2 separate regions of the Homo sapiens genome follow, and region 1 is linked to region 2. The links are contacts of gene promoters, found by promoter capture Hi-C in human tissues and cell types (Jung and others, 2019). All regions are on one chromosome and are shown on one strand. The core of a region is centred on a gene start or on the middle of the fragment in contact, and the rest is flanking DNA. Distances in the headings are between cores, read along the strand shown.

Region 1 (2,834 bases), core at 259-2,758, 350 kb before region 2:
GAGATTATACCACTGCACTCCAGCCTGGGTAACAGAGTGAGACTCTGTCTTAAAAAAAAAAAGAAAAAGAAAAAAAGGAAAAGAAATAAATGTTACCCTTTTGATCCTTTTAATTGCCTGCTTAAATGATAGCTCTCTGTTGGACTGTCTTGATCCAAGAATAGAGAGATCATAAGTCAGTAAGAGATGAACTTCAAGTATAATGACATGTTTTTCTCCTGTGAAAACAGATAAAGTTAATAAAGTTGGTGAGATCCATGTGAAGACATTAGAAGAAATTCTTCTTGAAAGAGCCAGTCAGAAACGTGGAGAATTGCAAACTAAACTCAAGACAGAAGGACCTTCAAAAACTGATGATTCTACTTCAGGAGCAAGAAGCTCCTCCACTATCCGTATCAAAACCTTCTCTGAGGTCCTGGCTGAAAAAAAACATCGGCAGCAGGAAGCAGAGAGACAAAAAAGCAAAAAGGATACAACTTGCATCAAGCTAAAGATTGATAGTGAAATTAAAAAAACAGTAGTTTTGCCACCCATTGTTGCCAGCAGAGGACAATCAGAGGAGCCTGCAGGTAAAACAAAGTCTATGCAGGAGGTGCACATCAAGACGCTGGAAGAAATTAAACTGGAGAAGGCACTGAGGGTGCAGCAGAGCTCTGAGAGCAGCACCAGCTCCCCGTCTCAACACGAGGCCACTCCAGGGGCAAGGCGGCTGCTGCGAATCACCAAAAGAACAGGTAACAAGAGAACTTGGTCTCTAGTACCACGTCCCCACATAATATTCCAGAGGAGTGTTCCGTGGGATCTTCCTAGGAGTTGTTTGACAACCTTTCTTTACTCAGATAACGTTGAAAACACTGAATTAAATGAAGTTTTTCAGTAGTGCTATGTAGACCTATGCTATTTTGTTTTATTTTATTTTTGAGACAGAGTCTCACTCTGTCACCCAGGCTGCAGTGCAGTGGCATGACCTTGGCTCACTGTAGCCTCCACCTCCTAGGTTCAAGTGATTCTCCTGCCTCAGCCTCCCAAGTAGCTGGGGCTACAGACATGTGCCACCACACCCCGCTAATTTTTGTATTTTTAATAGAGATGGGGTTTCAGCATGTTGGCCAGGCTGGTCTCAAACTCCTCACCTCAAGTGTGATCTGCTTGCTTCAGTCTCCCAAAGTGCTGGGGTTACAGGTGTGAGCCACCATGCCCGGCCAACCTTTGCTATTTTAATGTGTATTTTGAGACTTTAGGAGCACAGATGGGCTTTATCTGTAATTTTATTTGTCCTGTCTTACTACTTTCATTAAATAAAGTTTTGTTTAACATATCTATCATGAAGTTGCAGCTTAAATAAAATAACTAATGATGTCTTTAATGTGAATACAGGGATGAAAGAAGAGAAGAACCTTCAGGAAGGAAATGAAGTTGATTCTCAGAGCAGTATTAGAACAGAAGCTAAAGAGGTAAATTTAAGATTATTGTATGGTTTTGTTCATGGCAAACAAAGGCTAGATAATTGGTAGTTTTACCTTACAATAAATTTCTAAGTACTTCATTCATATATTAGGTAAACAGTCTTTCTTTTTACTTATAATTTCTTATGAGAATTTCCTGTAGTTCTATGTATATCAGTATTCGCTGCCCTTTTAAAGTTTTTTGTTTGCCGGGCGCGGTGGCTCACGCCTGTAATCCCAGCACTTTGGGAGGCTGAGGCGGGCGGATCACGAGGTCAGGAGATTGAGACCGTCCTGGCTAACACGGTGAAACCCCGTCTCTACTAAAAATACAAAAAATAAAGTTTTTTGTTTAATTGGCCATTACTTTTTTTTAACTGAGTTTTTTCTAATGCTATGCATCATACAAAAGTTGGAAATTTTATTTTTTTTAAAACTGAACAAACCCTAAAAATATACAGCTCAGATGTAACCATCATTATCTTTTCCATGGATTTCTTCGAGCTTTTTCAGTCTTGCTCTGTTGCCCAGGCTGGAGTGCAGTGGCATGATCTCGGTTCACTGCAACCTTTGCCTCCTGGGTTCAAGCGATTCTTGTGCCTCAGCCTCCCATGTAGCTGGGATCAAAGGCATGCACCACCAAGCCTGACTAATTTTTGTATTTTTAGTAGAGACAGAGTTTCTCCATGTTGTCCAGAGTGGTCTCGAACTTCTGGCTTCAAGTGATCTGCCTGCCTTGGCCTCCCAACGTGTTGGGATTACATGTGTGAGCCACCACACTTGGCCTTCTTCGACCTTTTTGTTTATATATGCATGCATGTGAATTTGTTTAATGTTAAACCCATGTTTAGAACATAATGGAGAACTCTACAGTGTATCATTTTACAGCCTGCTTTAACTTTACCATGTTAATAATTCTTCAAGAAGTTTGTTTTTACTGACCACATGATTCTCCATTATACAAATACAGTCTTTTTCTGGACATTCAGATTTTGTTTTACACAATTTAAAGTAATATATTTGTACATAAATCTTTGTGCAGGTATTTGATTATTTAGGAATCATTAGTATTTGACTTAGAGTCATGGTTGTCTAGCCTGTGGAATCTGGGTTTTTTATTATTCCATACATCTGTAATTCTAATCTTTCATCTTTAACAGGGTATTGTCTATTTAACATCAAATAAAGAGCTTTTCTCTCAGATTCTGGATCATGTGAGATTCTGCTTAACTTAGATGTTAGCCTGGTACTTACATCATACAGGTTATTAGAGGTACCAGATTTTAATTCTGTCATTCAAATTTATCCACAGGCTTCAGGTGAGACCACAGGAGTTGACATCACTAAAATTCAAGTCAAGAGATGTGAGACCATGAGAGAGAAGCACAT
Region 2 (3,127 bases), core at 534-3,033:
GGCAGGGGGTGGCACTTGAGCTGTTTCTGAGCATGAATCGCTGAAAGGTTTACAGAAAGTGTTCCCAGGACGGTGCTAAGGCGCTGAAGCAAGGGCAGGGGCTGAGTGCAAAGGGAACTTCAGGCCCTCTAGCTAGACAAGAGGATGGAGCTTTGCATGGAGAGAAAGCTAGTGACAAGGCTGGGGGAAGGGGCCCTGCAGGGGCTTCATCCTGGAGGGGTCTGAGCCAGACAGGAATGTGGGTAGATGTACATTTCCGGTTCTCTGTGCGGAAGCAGGGTGGTGGGCCAGGAAGGAGGGCAGTGGGCTTGTGTGGTTGGAGGGTGGTACTCTTTCTTCCGGCTCCCCTTTCCCCCCGAGTGCCTCCTTCCCACTGTGGATGGCACTTACCATGTGCGCCATGGGACAACTCTGCCTGACCCCAGCACACACACACACACCCCCCACACCACACACATACACCACACACACCACACATGCACACACACACCACACACATATATACGCACACACCCATACACATATACACGCATACACCCATACACACACATCATACACACACACATACACCACACACACCACACACATACACCCATACACACACATACACATATGCCACACACACCACACACGCATACACACCACACACATATACACACATACACCTATACACACACATCATGCACACACACCACACACGCACACACACCACACACACATATACACACATACACCCATACACACAACATACACACACACATACACACATCCATACATACACATCATACACACACATACACCACACATACCACACATGCACACACACCACACAGATATATACCCATACACCCGTACACATACACTACACACCACAGATGCACACACACGCCACACACATATACACACATACACCCATACACGTACATCATACACACACATACACCACATACACCACACATGCGCACACACATCACACACATATACACACATACACCCATACACACATATCACACACACACACACACACACACACACACACACACACAGATTCCACTGCCCAGCCCATCGGGGCACTTAACATATATGGTAGAAATGAATTATTTGGAAAGGGGCCATGAGTGGCCGACCTGCTGTAGACAATTTTTGTGGTTCCCTCCACCCTGGGGGGTTTGTATCCAGTGAGTGACAGAAATTCCAGGCATGGTTGGAAAGCTTCTGGAGTGAAGTGGCCCCTAGTTCTTAGTGGGTAGGTAGATGCCCTTGGTTAGGCTTGTATTTGCCATCTGTAATTTGGGGGGAGCTGCTCAGAGGAGCCCCATTGCTCTCAAGAGCCCCGAGCGGTTCCCTAGGTCCATCCAAGCGTGTCTGTGGTCTCTAATTCCAGCCACAGCATTTATTTATTGCATGTATTCCTTCCACAGCAAGAGAGAGCCCTCGGGATCCCCAGAGTGTTAGCTTCACAAATAAAGTGCGACTCAGTGTATTCGCCCAGGCATCCCAGGATAATCTGGCCAGGCTGGTAAACAGGAAAGATCAGTGTCTCCCTCCCCTGCCTTTGCCTGCCTGGATGCATCTGTCCGTCTTAGAACGGATTCCCTGCTCCCCTCCAGAGCATCCCCAGGTCAGGGCAGACCCCCTTCCCAGGGGTGGACACTGCAGTGTGCCTACCTTGCCTCAGTCCTGGCCTGGGCAGGAGTCTGGCGGAGCCTCTGAGGTGACGAGACCACCTGGCTGGGTGAATGTCCAGAGGGTGGGCAGCTGGGCTCCCGGTCTCAAGAGTTCTCCCCAGCTCCCTGATCACATCCCTTTTATAAAGCCCGGGGTGACGTCTCCAAGCACAGGCCCACTCTGCCGCCCCTCCCTCCTCCTCAGACCCTCCTGAAGAGCATGGCACCTTGGGAGGCCTCTGCCTCCGGGCTCTGTGACTGGAGGCAGCCTCTCCTCCTGCCCCACCCGAGCCCTCCGAGGCGGGACTTTCTCCTTCTTACCGGCTCTTTCCATCCTCCACACCCTCTTCCCACCCAGAGGACCCATCCTGCCCCCAAACAACGTGGAAATGGGCTATCTGAGGAGGGTGGGGAGAAGTGTCAGTGTGAAATGTCTTGTTTCCTCTCCGAAGAGCCACAGACACACCTAGTCTGAATTAGACGTAGAAAACGACAGGAAGAGGGGAGGAGAAGGGCACAGGCTGACCCAGGGGCTCCTCACATCCCATGCTCCCAGCTCTGAGGGAAAGCCAGGTCAGCGTGGGTCTCCAGGCGGCTCCTAGACTGCGCCCTGTGACTGGCACAGGGTGGTGGTGGCAGAGATTCTCTCCTTTTTCCTTCCTTCCTGCTTCCCTTCTTTCCTCGGTCACTGAGCGCTTCCTCAGCGCAGGGTTTTGAGGTGAATAGGCTATGGACTGGTCAGAGACCTTAGGTAAGCAACCAGCTATGAGCAAGGAGGACGAAATGGGAGCTGCAGAAGGTGGATGCACCTGGGAAGTGCCAGGGGTGCAGAGAGGGGACTTCCAGGTGGCAGCACATCCAGACAGCCTGCTTGGGGGCCCCACCTTCTTGTCTCGTGGCACCCACCACCATACTATTTTGTGACTGCTCAGGTACAGCACTTTGAGGACAGGGACAGGCCCCCTTCCCCCTGTACCCTTGGCACCCACTCCATTGCTGGGCACATACAGAGAGGGCCCTCAATAGATATTTGCTAACTGCATGCATCGCAAGTGACTTTTGTCTCTTTCTTGAGCCTGCAATAACTCTCTATACCCTTGGACAAGGGGCTCTCCAGGGCAGAGACTGTTTCTTCTATCAGGCTGGGAGTCTCTGAAGGCAGGGGCTATGTCTCTACCCTCAGACAGGACGCTCTCCCAGCACAAGCTCAACCTGGTCGTCCCCTAATGCTGGAGAAGCATGCCGGCAGTCTGCAGGTTAGCACCCCTCACTTGTCTGATGCTTACTGTTAACAGGGGATTGCAAACATATTATTATCACACCCATTAGGGCTGTTAAACACCAGGACAGAAATGATAGCCTATGAGGACAGCACTGACCCTCATAGACCAAAACTTCGCTGTGGGGATGATGTGTACGTTGGCCTGTCCTGAAGCAGGAGGTGGTCTTAATGGGCTGAA

Evidence for each region. Contacts are between HindIII fragments. The study calls those that stand out against the background at their distance.
Region 1: a contact is called between a fragment that was not itself captured here and the fragment with the promoter of KISS1 in region 2, in 3 of the 25 tissues and cell types used here (heart right ventricle, hippocampus and liver).

Annotation. Positions count from the first base shown.
Region 1 is chr1:203,846,954-203,849,787 of GRCh38, forward strand. ZBED6 (zinc finger BED-type containing 6) reads left to right here. Exons shown (of 17, transcript NM_001395895.1): 12 at 231-734; 13 at 1,378-1,454; 14 at 2,758-2,834. It overlaps ZC3H11A (zinc finger CCCH-type containing 11A), which reads left to right. Exons shown (of 18, transcript NM_001376342.1): 13 at 231-734; 14 at 1,378-1,454; 15 at 2,758-2,834. Among named protein-coding and RNA genes, the nearest start is that of SNRPE, 13 kb to the right of the region's middle. The HindIII fragment of the contact is 5,303 bases long and covers 1-2,834 here.
Region 2 is chr1:204,194,708-204,197,834 of GRCh38, forward strand. It overlaps KISS1 (KiSS-1 metastasis suppressor), which reads right to left and starts at 1,784. Exons shown (of 3, transcript NM_002256.4): 1 at 1,669-1,784. The HindIII fragment of the contact is 9,045 bases long and covers 1-3,127 here.